Regions from separate parts of the Homo sapiens genome. Here region 2 is linked to region 1. The links are contacts of gene promoters, found by promoter capture Hi-C in human tissues and cell types (Jung and others, 2019). All regions are on one chromosome and are shown on one strand. Each heading gives the region's core, a stretch centred on a gene start or on the middle of the fragment in contact. The rest is flanking DNA. Distances are from core to core; before and after follow the strand shown. Region 1 holds the start of YPEL1 (yippee like 1). Region 2 overlaps MAPK1 (mitogen-activated protein kinase 1).

Region 1 (7,436 bases), core at 2,970-5,469:
ACTGCCATTATAGGCATGAGCCACTGTGGTTGGTGAGGAACACACTTGATCAGTAGCAGGCTCCATGTGGTCTTCCACTGCCAATGAGCTTGGTGGAGATCACCTGTCAGGCCAGTGGAGGGAAGGGAGGAGACCTAAGGGCTGAACTTTTGGGGCCTCCAACATCAGGAGGGTGAGGGCAGGTGGGGAAATGGAGGCTGGTGAGGAAGAGAGTGGAGCCCCAGAATCTAAGTGAAGAAAGTGTTTTTAAAAAGCGCCCCACTGTAGGAAATGCTAGTAGGACCATCCAGTAAGGTATAGGCTGAGCCCAGATGTGACGACATGATGTTTTGCGACATGATGTTGGAGCGGTTGGGATGGAACCCTGAGAATGGGAGGTGGGCATGGGAGGCGCCCAGGCCAGGCCCTTCTGTGTCATCTTGCCCTGAAGAGTTGCAGAGCAGGTGGGCATAGCCAAAGAGGGTACGTGGAGCTGAGAGCACGGCTCCTACCCTGATGGGGCAGCCCAGTAAGCCGTGGGGGGCAGGACTAAGGGCGAGCCACGTGTTCATGGCAGCAGGCAGGGCAGATGTTTAGGATGGGATGTTTAGCAGTGGGGGCAGGGAGGAGTCCTCTCCCATCTCTATGTTCTCTGTAAAGTTGGACACAGAGTTAGCAGAGGGGAGGAGGCATGATATCATCTTCCAGGATGGTGGAACCTGCACAGACCCGGAGGTGCAGCAGGCGGAGGGTTTTCAGGAGGACTAGGCTTCCCTAGAAACTGGTGTCCCCAAAGTAAGCAGCCAGCTGCAGTGGTGCGTTTCCCAGTTGGGGGAGGGGGCTGAATTTCTCCAGGACAGGCGAGGGTGGGGTGTGGGAAAGGGGTTAGGGAGGAAGTGGGCATGGGGGAGGGCAGCCCCCAGTGGGAGGGCATGCTGAGGCATGGAGCTGGGACGCTAAAGGGAGGGAGCCCTGGAGCTTGAAGGTGGTGTTCCTGAGTGGGCTGTGGGAAAGTGGATTATAAATGGTGCGACCACAAGGCAGGCGGGGGTGGCAGGCTGCAGGCCTGGCTGATGGTGCTGCCCAAGGCCACCCAGAAGGTCGTGCCTGGGATTTTGTTAATAAAAACAGAGGAGGATAGAAATGTTAGGGCATTGCCCAAAATAAATAAGAGTATGTATTAAATCATGAAACTTTTTGTTCATCCAAATGTGTACTAGATCACAATGTAGACTTTCTTTTACTACTTTTATTGTGGTAAAATATACATAACAAAATTCACCATTTTAACTTTTTTTTTTTTTTTGAGACAGAGTCTCACTGTGTTGCCCAGGCTGGAGTGCAGTGGTTCCATCTCGGCTCACTGCAACCTCCAACTCTTGGGTTCAAGCGATTCTCTTGCCTCAGCCTCTGAGTAGCCGGGACTACGGGCACACACCACCACGCCCAGCTAATTTTTTTTGCATTTTTTTTTTTTAGTAGAGACGGTGGTTTCACCATGTTGGCCAGACTTGTCCTGAACTCCTGACCTCAGGTGATCTGCCCACTTGGGCCTCTCAAAGTGCTGGGATTATAGGCATAGCCACCACACCCGGCCCATTGTAACAATTTTAAGGGTGCAATTCAGTGGCATTCACATTGTTGTACAGCCATTCCCACTACCAATTCCAAATTTTTTTATCACCCCAAACAGAAACGTTGTACAGATAAAATGAAATAGGTCATGTGGTCACGTGGTCATAGTTAACAACACTTGACGCCACCAAGTCCGCGGAAAGATGCTCAACACCACTAATCACGAGGCAAGTGCAAACCAAACCCATCATGCACCAGGCTGGCCACTGTCAAAAAACAGAAAATAACAGTTGGTGAAGATGTGCAGAAACTGGAAGCCTTGTACACTGTTGGAGAGAATGTGAAATGGTGCAGTTACGTTGGGAAACAGTATGTAATCGCCTTAAAAAATTCAACATAGAACTACCATATGATCCAGCAACTTCACTTCTGGGTATATACCCAAAATAATTGGAACCAGGGGTGCCAAGGGATGTTTGTACCATCAAGTTCATAGTGGCATTATTTACAATAGCTAAAGTATGGAAGCAGCAAGCCAGGTGTCCACTGACAGATGCGTGGAGAAACAAAATGTGGTATCTACATACAATGGAATATCATTCAGCCTAAAAAAAGGAAGGAAACTGTGACAGTGCTACACCATCGGTGAACCTTGCAGACATTATGCTAAGTGAAATGAGCCACAAAAGTCACAGTAAGCCACAAAAAGACAAATACTAGATGATTTCACTTATGTGAGGCACCTAGAGCAGTCAAGCTCATAGGGACAGAAAGTAGAATGGGGTGGTGCGGGGCATGGGGTAGAAGGAAACGGGAGTCATTGTTTCTTGAGTCCAGAGCTTTACTTAGGCAAGATGAGTTCTGGAGAGGGATGATGATGATGGTTGCACAACATTATGAATGTATTTAATACCAGTGAACTGTACACTTTAAAATAGTTAAATGGGGCCGGGCGCGTGGGCTCATGCCTGTAATCCCAGCACTTTGGGAGGCCGAGGCAGGCGGATCACTTGAGGTCAGGAATTCGAGACCAGCCTGGCCAATATGGTGAAACCCCGTCTCTACTAAAAATACAAAAATTAGCCGGGCCTAGTGGCGGGCAACTGTAGTCTCAGCTACTGGGGAGGCTGAGGCAGGAGAATCGCTTGAGCCCAGGAGGAGGAGGTTGCAGTGAGCCAAGCTCACACCACTGCACTCCAGCCTGGGCGACACAGCGAGACTCCTGTCTCAAGGAAAAAAAAAAAAAAAAAAAAAAAGGCAACATCCAGCCACAATCTAAGTTATGAGTCAGGTGTACATTTAGCGACTTGAAGAGATCTTTACATACACAGTGGGTTGCAGAAAACAAGAGAATACGTCCAGAGGACGCTGATAACAATGTTATATACATTGTGACCTCAATAGAGGTTTTGTTGTTTTCTTGGTTTTTTTCTTTTCTTTTTTTTTTTTTTTGTTCAAGAGGAAGGGTCTCGCTCTGTCACCCAGTCTGGAGTGCAGTAGCGCGATCATGGCTCACTGAGGCCTCGACCTCCTGGGCTCAAGTGATCCTCCCGCCTCAGCCTCACAGGTAGCTGGGACTACAGGTGTGCACCACCATGCCTAATTTCTTTCTTTTTTTTTTTTTGGTACAGTGTCTCACTATGTTGCCCAGGCTGCTCTTGAACTCCTGGGCTCAAATGATCCTCCTGCCTCGGCCTCCCAAAGTACTGGAATTACAGGCGTGAGCCACCACACCCAGCCTTCAAATATATATATTCAAATAATACATATCTATTTTCAAATAATATATATTTTTTTAAAGAAGGGATACGGAACCAAGAAAACAGTGACATTAGAGGCGTGGGGGTGGCGCAGGCTGCCGGGGCGTCGGGAGCACTACCCAGAGGAAGGGGCTTTCTGTAGGGTCTGACGCGGCAGTCCTGGAGCAGAGCGAGGGGCCAGACGCAGACCCGGGGGGTCCTCCGTGGCGAGGGGGTCCTAGGGGGTTAGGTCCTTGGGTTCAGAGAGGGTGGTGGGGACGGGACAGCACGGACGACCGCATTCTGGGGACCCGGCCGCGGAGGGGTCCGGCCAAGGCGGGCCCTGGTCAGGCGCACACAAGCTCGCCTCGGCCTCCACGTCCGTCCCCTACAACGCGGCCGACCGCGCGGACGGGCGGTACGTGCACGGCGCTGGACGAGGAGGCTGCGCGCAAGCTCGCCTCAGCCTCTGGAGCTGCGGGCCCTGCACGCCCTCGGCCCATCCCCGCGAGCCGGAGGAACGAGTGACCACCACCGCCAGCCCCGCCGGCCGAGTGTCCCTGCCCAGCCAGCCTGCGTCCGAGCGCGGCGCTCCTCGCGGAACCCGCCCCTGCTCTCGCCCCGCCCCGCGCGGCCCCGCCCCCGTGTCCCTCGGCCCTTACAGGCTGGCTCCGAGGCCGCGCCCGGCGGGTCAGCCAATGGGAGTGCGGCGCGCCCCGCGGCACGTGGGCTCCTGCCCGTCCCGGCCGGGTGCGAGCTGGCGGAGCTCCTTGGCCCGGAGCGCGCGGGGCGGGGGCGCGCGGGGCAGGCGGGACGCGGGGCGGAACGGAGGCAGGATGGGGGCGGGGCGCTGGCGACATGGCGCGCTGATTGGCCGGCGCCGCGCTCCAAGGCTGTTAACGGCGTCTGGGCCGGGCTACGGCTCCAAAACAAAGGGCAGGCGGCCCGCGGGGCGGCGGCGGGAGGATGCCTCGCGCCCTGCCTAGGCGTTAACGGCCTCAGCGCGTCCCGGGCCGCGCCGGGAACGCCTGAGAGCCGAGCCCGCGCTGACCGGGGCCCGGGCCGGATGGGCGCTGCGGGCCGGGGCGCGGACCGCGGAGCGGCCGTGAGTACGGGCGGGCCTGGCTGCAGCTGCGCGGGCGGTTACTTTGTGGCCACCCAAGGATACTGTGGCTGCGGGCGGGCCCGGGAAGCACCTGTTGGGCGTCCGGGCGGGCGGGGGCGCGAGCAGGGCGGGCCTGTGACTTTTTTGTTCCGTTTTGGATTTTGATTTGTTGATATTGGGCTCACTCCGTTTTGGCACAGACAACAACGCCTAATCTTTGATTCCCCCGCCGTTTCTTCTCTCCACCTCCCCCGCTGTCCCTCTTCTCCCGCCCCGCCGTGAAAAGATAGGGAAAATGGACAAGATCCCTGATTTTTGGATTTTCCTTCCTTAAAAAATACAGCCTCAACTGGGCAAGGAAATGAGGGCAAAAGAGGTCTCCTAGGAATGTTTATCAGAAAGGCGGAAAAGCTTTTCAAGTAGCCACATAAAGATCATGACTAAAATGGAGCGTCCTCGGTATTTACCACTTGTGGCATAGGTTTCGTTAACAGAGATTGCAAAAGCCTGAGCTTCAGAGATCTAAACAGGGTCCGCCTCCCCCATGCTTGGCTCTGATTGACATCTTTGATGTCCAAATTATGTGCTGAATTCTAAGGATGGAAAAAAGGCTGAGATTCTATTTTAGGCAGATAATGAACATGGAAGACATCAATTTCCCCGCCCCACGCTTTTTCTGTTCCGTTGCATTTCTTCTTCCTCTATCTAAAACATACCCACCTTAACCTGATGTTTCCTTTGCTAAGAATGTTATTCTTCCCACCCACCAGCCCCTGACACTCCTAATTCCCTACTCAGGTCCCAAGACTAGGTTTACCACCACTGGGGAGACTTTCCAGGCACCTCACCTGAGCAAGCTATAGATGTGACAAATGTTTGCTGAGCCCCTGCCAGGTGCCAGGAGCTGTGCTTAATCCTGATGTCATTTTGTCTTACAATCATGCACTGGTCCCCCTCAGGGCTCTTGCGAGGCAATGGTAGTGGCATGTTTGAGGAATAAGAGGATCTCCAGGACCTTCATGGTGTTTCCTCTTGGGCCCTACAGGGTAGAGTCTCATCTACTTGTGGGAACCCCTACGGGTTGGGCCCATATTGAGCATTTATATAATAACTGAGCGCTCTTAATTACCAATCTGAGCAATAGTCTTCTTTTAAAATAACTTCTTATTTTGGAAAAACTTTAAATTTACATAAAGGTTGCAAAGATAGTACAGACAATCCCAATATATCCTACACCCAGTGCTCCCTATCCTTACCCCATCCTACACTGCTGTGGTACACTTGCCAATATGAAAAACACCTGGGTGCATTCTTGTCACTAAACTGTGGGTATTAAGCCTTTTCACCTTTGAATCACTGTAATTTATAAAGCCATTTCTCTGTTTGTTTCTTTGTTTGAGACAGGGTCTCACTCTTGCTCAGGATGGAGTGCAGTGGCACAAACACGACTCACTGCAACCTCCACATCCTGAGCCCAAGTGATCCTCTTGCCTCAGCCTCCCATGTAGCTAGGACTACAGGTGCACACCACCATGACTGGTTAACTTTACATTTTTTTTTGTAGAGACTGGGGTCTCACTTAATGTTTCCCAGGCTGGTCTTGAACTCCTAGGCTCAAGTGATCCACCTGCCTCAGCCTCCTGAAGTGTTGGGATTACAGGCTTGAGCTGCTATACCTCACCATAAAGCTATTTTCTTTAGGTTGAGAGCAGTGTTCCTCTAACATCTGTTCTTGATTCTTGCCTGTCTTCACTAAGTTCCACCAGCACCTGTGTCAAGGGGCAGGGATGCAGGAAAAGGGAAAGAGGCTACCCTATAGGTTTTTTCCTTTTTTCTTTCTTTTTTTGTTGGTTTGTTTTGGTTTGTTTATTTCAACAAACAAATTGGTTTTTTGAGACAAGGTCTCATTCTGTCACCCAGGCTGGAGTATAATGGCACTGTCTCCACTCACTGCAGCCTCAACCTCCTAGGTTCAAGCCATCCACCTGCCTTCTGAGTAGCTGGAAACACAGGCACACACCACCATACCCAGCTAATTTTTTGATTTTTCTGTAGAGACAGGATCTCACTCTGTTGCTGGTCTCAAACTCCTGAGCTGAAGCGATCCTCCCCCCTTGCCTCCCAAAGTGCTGAGATTATAGGTGTGAGCCACCACCCCCAGTTAGTTTTGTTTTGTTACTTTATTTGTTTATTTTTTGAGACAGAGTCTCGCTCTGTCTCACCCAGGCTGGAGTGCAGTGGCATGATCTCGGCTCACTGCAGCCTCCACCTCCAGGGTTAAGCGATTCTCCTGTCTCAGCCTCCCGAGTAGCTGGGATTACAGGCATGTGCCACCACACCCAGCTAATTTTGTATTTTTAGTAGAGACAGGGTTTCACCATGTTGCCCAGGCTGGTCTCAAACTCTTGACCTCAGATGATCTGCCACCCCTCAGCCTCCCAAAGTGGTGGGATTACAGGTGTAAGCCACAGTGCCCAGCCTTGTTTTGTTATATTAGAGAGACAGAGTCTTGCTTTGTCACTCAAGCCTGGGGTACAGTGGCACAATCATAGCTCACTGCAGCCTCAACCTCTTGGGCTCAAGCAATCCTACAGCCTCAGCCTTCTGAGTAGCTGGGACTGTGGGTGTGCACCACCATGCCCAGCTATATAAAAAAAAAATTTTTTTTGGTAGATATGAGGTTTGGGGTTCTCACTGTGTTGCCCAGGTTGATCTCAAACTCCTGGCCTCAAGTGATCCTCCAGTCTCAGCCTCCCGATGTGTTGGGATTTACAGGTGTGAGCCCAGCCTACCTTGCAGTTTGTTTGTTTGTTTTTGTTGTTGTTGTTATTTTTGAGACAGAGTCCCACTCTGTCGCCAGGCTGGAGTGCAGTGGCGTGATCTCGGCTCAGTGCAGCCTCCGCCTCCCGGGTTCAAGCGATTCTCCTGTCTCAGCCTCCTGAGTAGCTGGGACTACAGGCACCCGCCACAACAGCCAGCTAATTTTTGTATTTTTAATAGAGACGGGGTTTCACCAGGTTGGCCAGGATGGCCTCAAT
Region 2 (7,436 bases), core at 2,429-4,928, 73 kb before region 1:
GTCTATTTGTCTGTTTTTATGCCAGTACCATGCTGATTCCCTGCCCCCCACCCAGCTTTATTAAGGTATAATTGACAAATACAAATTAGTATATGAAACTGAGGTGGAAGTGCTGGAAAAATAATTAGTATATATTCATGATATACAACATGATGTTTTGATATATGTGTATATTGTGAAATGATTAAAGCAAGGTAATTAACATATCTGTCATCTCACATACTTTTTGTGGTGAGAATGTTTAAGATCTAATCTTTTAGTAATTTGCAAGTATATAATACATTATTATTAACTGTAGTCACCATGCTGTAGGATAGAGCTCTAGAACTTATTCATCCTGGTTAACTGAAACTTTATACTCTAACAAATTATCTGCACATTTCACCCTATCCCCGCAGTGTTGTGCTGTTTTGGTTACTATAGCTTTGTAGTGTATTTTGAAATCAAGTGATGTGAAGCCACCACTTTGTTCTTGCTCAGGATTGCTTTGGCTATATGGGATCTTTTGTGGTTCCATATATGAATTTAAAGATTACATTTTCTGTTTCTGTGAAAAATGCCATTGGAACTTTGATAGGGATTACATTGACTCTGCAGACCACACTGAGTAGTGTAGACACTTTAAGAATATTAAGTCAGACCAGGCACAATGGCTCATGCCTGTAATCCCAGCACTTTGGGAGGCTGAGGTGGGAGGATCACTTATGACCAGGAGTTCAAGACCAGCCTGGATAACATAGTGAGACCCCATATCTACCAAAAAGTTTTTAAATTAAAAACAATTGGCCGGGTGCGGTGGCTCACACCTGTAATCCCAGCACTTTGAGAGGCCAAGGCGGGCAGATCACGAGGTCAGGAGATCGAGACCATCCTGGCTAACATGGTGAAACCCCATCTCTACCAAAAATACAAAAAAAAAGGAAATTAGCCGGGCGTGGTGGTGGGCCCCTGTAGTCCCAGCTACTCGGGAGGCTGAGGCGGGAGAATGGCGAGAACCCAGGAGGCGGAGCTTGCAGTGAGCCAAGATGCGATACTGCACTCCAGCCTGGGCGACAGAGCGAGACTCTGTCTCAAATAAATAAATAAATAATAAAAACAATTAGGCATGGTTTTTGGATGCTGAATTGAATTTCTTTGTGTGTGTGTGTGGTTTTTTTTTTTTTTTTAAAGACTGAATAATATTCCACTCTATGTATATGCTACATTTTCTTTATCCATTCATCCATAGTGGACATTTCGGTTGCTTCCACATCTTGGGTATTGTGCGTAATGCTGCACAATGAACCTGCCAGTAGCTCTTAGAGATTCTACTTTGAATTGTTTTGGATATATGCTCAGAAGTGGGATTGCTGGACCATATGGGAATTCTATTTTTAATTTTTTGAGGAATTTCCAAGTGGTTACACCATTTTGCACACTCAACAATAGAGTATGAAGGTTCAAATTTATCCACATCACACTTACGGTTTTCTGTTTGTTTGTTTGTTTGTTTTTAAATAGTGGCAGTCCTGGCTGGTCGTGGTGGGTGGCTCACGCCTGTAATTCCAGCACTTTGGGAGGCCAAGGCAGGCGGGTCACCAGGTCAGGAGATCCTGTAATTCCAGCTACTCAGGAGACTGAGGCAGGAGAATTGCATAAACCCAGGAGGCAGACGTTGCAGTAAGCCGAGATTGAGCCACTGCACCCCAGCCTGGCGACATAGCGAGACTCCGTCTCAAAAAAAAAAAAGGCATAACGTTGAATACACGTTTCAAAAGAAGACATAAGAAAAGATGGTCATCATCATGAATCAGAGAAATGCAAATCAAAACCACAATGAGCTATCACCACACACCCATTAGGACTGACCCCCACTTTTTTTTTTTTTGTTTTTTGAGACTGAGTCTCACTCTGTCACCAGGCTGGAGTGCAGTGGCGCGATCTTGGCTCACTGCAGCCTCCATCACCTGGGTTCAAGCCATTCTTCTGCATCAGCCTCCCAAGTAGCTGGGACTATGGGCGCGCACCACCCCACCCAGCTAATTTTTGTATTTTTGGTAGAGATGGGGTTTCACCATTTTGGACAGGATGGTGTCAATCTCGTGACCTCATGATCCGCCTGCCGTGACCTCATGATCCGCCTGCCTTGGCCTCCCAAAGTGCTGGGATTACAGACATGAGCCACCGCACCCGGCCTTCTTTTTTAATGAACCATCTTTGGATTCCTGTGATAAGAGACACACTTATAGCAAAAACCTGTAGTGTGGTGGTAGTTAGGGACAAAAGGGGTTGAGCAAAACAAGACACAGTTGGTAATGTCAAAGTGATTTTAAAGCATAAATGTTTATAGACACCTGAAAGTTCATGGTATGCCTTATTTACCAAGTATCAACAATAAAATATGTAAAACAAAACCGAGAAATCCAAGGAGAAACTAGCAAGTATGGAATCATTATGGAAGAGTGTAACCCTCTTTGTCATCAGTTCTATGAAAGATAGATTGCATAAACCAAAAAGGCAGCAGAATGGTTAAGCGGAGCAGACAGGAACAGACAAAACTCCTTTTTTTCAAGTGGGACCAGATGAGGATGATCTCATATTTTCTTACTTAAAAGGAGGCAGTTGGCCGGGCATGGTGGCTCACCCTGTAATCCCAGCCCTTTGCAAGGCCGAGGCGGGGCCTATCACGAGGTCAGGAGATTGAAACCATCCTGGCTAACACGGTGAAACACCGTCTCTACTAAAGATACAAAAAATTAGCCAGGCGTGGTGGCGGGGCCTGTAGTCCCAGCTACTCGGGAGGCTGAGGCAGGAGAATGGCCTGAACCCAGGAGGGGGAGCTTGCAGTGAGCCAAGATCGCACCACTGCACTCCAGCCTGGGCGACAGAGCGAGACTGCTTCCACAAAAAAATTTTAAAGAGGCCGGGGGGGAGGGCAGTTATTTCGTCACTGAGTGTTGATACAGTAGAGGGGCACACTGACCATAAACTCCTCTCTCCAAAAATTTTGTTGGATTATAATTTTGCAGAACAAATTATGACCACTTGTGACTGTTAACACTAGAAATTTATAATATTAACACTAGAAAATTGTAATGTTGAGTTTAAACCAGCATTTTATAACTAATCCGTGCTGTTGTTGAACTCTTGTTCTATGATTTGAATTACCAAAATAGAATTTTTTTCTAAAAATATTCCCAATATTGAATAAGCTTGCTTATTATATATGCTTTTTAATACTATGTTAAATTATTACTATTATATATGCTGTTGCCTAACTGAAAATCACTGGCTTAGGGCCTCATGTACCAAACCAAAGCAAAATAAGATTTGAGTAGTGGTTATTTTACTTAAGAAAATATACTTCATTTCAAAGCATTTGGGGCCACCTGTGTACTATATGTTAATGGTGTTGTAGGATAATTGGATCCTAGTAAGACAAAGTTCTCCTCCAGAGCATTATCTTGTCATAGAATCAGACAAATGTATCAATAATTCTTAGGATTAGTAGACTGATAAATATTATAGAAGCATAAACTTTATTTAATTTAGAGACGGAGTCTCACTCTGTCGCCCAGGCTGGAGTGCAGTGGTACAATCTTGGCTCACTGCCACGTGCATCTCCCAGGTTCAAGTGATTCTTGTGCCTCAGCCTCCCAAGTAGCTGGGATTGTAGGCACTTGCCACCATGCCTGGCTAATTTTTTTGTATTTTTAGTAGAGGCGGGGTTTCACCATGTTGTCCAGGCTGGTCTCAAAACTCCTGTCCTCAAGTGATCCAGCCGCCCCAGCTTCCCAAAGTGCTGGGATTGCAGGTGTGAGCCACTGCACCCGGCCCTAGAAGCATAAATTTTAGAATAAAGTTATTTTACTGCTTTCTATTCTAGCACTTACCCCAAGGAAACAAGAAATGTTGTCTTACTGCCTGTCAATGTTATTTGATTGCTTTGGTCAGTGGGCCAGATGTTGACATTTATTAATATGAAAATTTCTTATACACAAGATTGTAATAGAATGTTTATCATAAAGATAGTAGTAATACTCAAGATTCAAATTCATAAAATTGAAGGTATAATTTTTATTATTGCTTTTGCTTATAATTCTGGTTTATCAGACATTAAGGACAACTAGGAAAGAACTGGGCCCCATGTTATTGCCACAAATATGTTTTTTGAAGAATACTTTTCTAGGTTTTGTTATAAAACTACCCAAACATCTTGATTCAGTTTCTTGGGGGAAGAAATGGTCATGTTGTTTTGCAAGTGAGAGAAACAAAGTTAATAGAAGTAATCAAGGTGTTCTCTTGGGTCCATTTTTGTTAGGGATAAAGATGTACAGTTGTAGGTTATTTGAATGTTTCTTCTGTGTCAGAGGAATTTGATACAACAGTAAGAAGGTGTTTCAGAGACAGAAGTGATTACTCTCACCAGAATGCAGTTGCTGTTTAAGACAATGGGAGAATGCTTGTTTGTGTATTTCTGGGTTTATAAAGGCAAGACTTTCACCCAGTTAACAGGGCTAGGTTCTCTGTTAGTTTTGAGAGTCACTGTGTGCTCTCTCATGTCAGTTGCATCCATCCTCCCTAGCTTGAGGCCTTTTTGTGGATAATATACATGCTGCCTTCACGGGTATGAAACAGGTGTTTACACAGTGTTAAAAATATAATACTTTACCAACTTGCCTTCTTCAAATATTCTGAGGGCTGTTTTTAATGCCATCTCTCTCTCTCTTTTTTAAGCTCTGCTTATGATAATGTCAACAAAGTTCGAGTAGCTATCAAGAAAATCAGCCCCTTTGAGCACCAGACCTACTGCCAGAGAACCCTGAGGGAGATAAAAATCTTACTGCGCTTCAGACATGAGAACATCATTGGAATCAATGACATTATTCGAGCACCAACCATCGAGCAAATGAAAGATGTGTATCCTTTTTAGGCAACTGGCCAATTCCACTGCTTGGTAACCTTGTTGAGTAAATAGAACTTGAAATTTCCTGAACTTAAAGGAAAAGTGCATTAAACATGCTAAAGGGAAAATCGTAATCTGTTTGCTATTTACTCCCTAAGTCTAGTCATGGAAAATCTTGGTTAACTCTGTTTGCAGTCATGTTTCTTCTGTCCAAGGGATGGTTTGTTGTGATGATGAAAAGGTAAAGGGAAGATCAGTAGTAGACTAAGAAAGAGGGTGCCCTGGCTATCTACCTGGTGAAATCAGGACTGTCCTGATCTTAAGAGTCAGGTTACCACTTTAGGTCTCAGTTTCCCCACCTTTAAAATGAAGGAACTGGTCGTCATGATCTTTAAGGTCAACTGAGGTCTGAAATTATGTGATTAACTCTGACCAACATTTAGAAATCTGGACTGAACAGATCTAGAGGATGCTGCCTGGGTAAAGGCTCCATTTGAAAGATAGAGAGGTTAAGTATACTGAAGAGGATCTGCCAGAAGGGAAAGGGTTATACAGCACTCCTACCAGTTTACCCAATTTGTATTCCGCCCCTCCAGGGTGCGGGAGCTCGCTGTTTCTAGGCAGCCCTTTCCATTTTTAAACAGCTCTGTTAATAAGTTGTAGTGATATTTGAAGTGAAATGCCTCCTGCCACTACCACCTGTTGGTCCTGCTTTACTTTTTGCCATGAAAATAAGCCTCTCTCAGATGACAGATTTTTAAATCATGTTTCCTTTGAATCCCATGCTGCGCCTCCTATAGCATAAATCTGTAAGAAACAGAGACTAGTGTTTACACAGAAGTGAGTAAAAGAAATGTAGAAATACTGCTAATGAAATAATACTATGATGAAGTTAAAGGCTAAATGCTTTAATAATTTAATTTCTGTGAGAAAGAAAGTAGCCATAGCTAAACTTTTAGGTAGTTAAGTACGTGACCAGGCAAGAAAGCATGAGGAGGAAAACTAGCACAAACCCCTTCTTAGAACGACTTGCCCATAGTCTTACTTATTTAAGATCTTAACAGTAATGGAAGAGTCAAGAAAATAGACTTAGGGTTGGATTTACTAGTAAGAGTATGTTTCTAGACCTGTATTTCTGGAAGTTTTATGTTTGGCTTTTGAGGAGCTTGGGAGAGGAGGGGAGCGGCAACAAGAAGTAAAAAGAATAGTGACATTACAGGTTACTGGACCAAACAGAGGAGGGAGTATCTGCTACTTACAGGCTAACAGTGTTTCCAGCAAACCTTGGAGGGGGTTCGTTGATGGTGGACAATTTAGAGAGCAAAGAGGTTGAGACTTCAAGATTGACCAGAATTTCCCTAACAGCCTGTTTCAGATCTCAGTCTAGGCCCATAGCCGCATCAGTCAGATGTAATGCTGGAATGCCTGCCATCTCACAGGACCTAAAAGGAGTTAACGACTTCAGATTCTTTCCATGAAGGAAACCAAGTTTTCCTCAGTTTCTTCTTTCCTTTAAGGGCTTCATGGTGTAATGATGGACTGTTTGGGAAGAGAGTCAAGAGAGGATGCATTTTTGTTTTCAATGCTTTGCTAAATGTGACCAGCTAATTGGTGTTTTACCTTAACCTGTGCAAACAGATATATAGTACAGGACCTCATGGAAACAGATCTTTACAAGCTCTTGAAGACACAACACCTCAGCAATGACCATATCTGCTATTTTCTCTACCAGATCCTCAGAGGGTTAAAATATATCCATTCAGCTAACGTTCTGCACCGTGACCTCAAGCCTTCCAACCTGCTGCTCAACACCACCTGTGATCTCAAGGTCAGCCAGGTTATTTACTATTAAGGTGATATATATTGAAAAACCCTTTCACTGAAGCATAGTTATATTTGTCATTATTCATATTTTAAATTACACCAGAAATACCCAAAAACATGTTTATGGCAAAAATGCTAATAAAGTGTGGTAGTCCTCTTCTTCTTCCTTATCCCATTGCTCCTTTCTCCCCAGAGATACCTTTTTTTTTTTTTTCTTAAAGACAGAGTCTTAGTATGTTGCCCAGGCCGGTCTGGAACTCCTGGGCTCAAGCAGTCCTCCTTTCTTGGCCTCCCAAAGTGCTGGGATTATGTATGTGGGCCACAGCACCAGGCCGTGATAACTAACTACTATAACAAATTGGTGGCCAGTTGCGGTGGCTCACGCCTGTAATCCTAGCACCTTGGGAGGCCAAGGTGGGCCTTATCACCTGAGGTCAGGAGTTCAAGACCAGCCTGGCCAACATGGCGAAACCCCATCTCTACTAAAAATACAAAAATCAGCCGGGCGTGGTGGCATGCGCCTGTAATCCCAGCTACATGGGAGCTGAGGTAGGAGAACCGCTTGAACCTGGGAGGCGGAGGTTGCAGTGAGCCGAGATCACACCACTGCACGCCAGCCTGGGTGACAAAGCAAAACTCTGTCCTAAAAAACAAAGTGTATTTTCTCCCAAAGTATTTTCTATGCTCTTGCATACATGTGTATTTTTATACTTTATATAGATAAACA

The links. The method cuts DNA at HindIII sites, captures the fragments that hold promoters and counts their contacts. A contact is called where the count stands out against the background at its distance.
Region 2: a contact is called between a fragment that was not itself captured here and the fragment with the promoter of YPEL1 in region 1, in 2 of the 25 tissues and cell types used here (aorta and mesenchymal stem cells).

Annotation. Positions count from the first base shown.
Region 1 is chr22:21,732,577-21,740,012 of GRCh38, reverse strand. It overlaps YPEL1 (yippee like 1), which reads left to right and starts at 4,219. Exons shown (of 5, transcript NM_013313.5): 1 at 4,219-4,398. RefSeq lists silencers at 3,651-4,500, 4,521-4,570. The HindIII fragment of the contact is 30,524 bases long and covers 1-7,436 here.
Region 2 is chr22:21,805,127-21,812,562 of GRCh38, reverse strand. It overlaps MAPK1 (mitogen-activated protein kinase 1), which reads left to right. Exons shown (of 9, transcript NM_002745.5): 2 at 4,717-4,899; 3 at 6,524-6,713. Among named protein-coding and RNA genes, the nearest start is that of MAPK1, 59 kb to the left of the region's middle. RefSeq lists a silencer at 818-1,032. The HindIII fragment of the contact is 4,729 bases long and covers 1,314-6,042 here.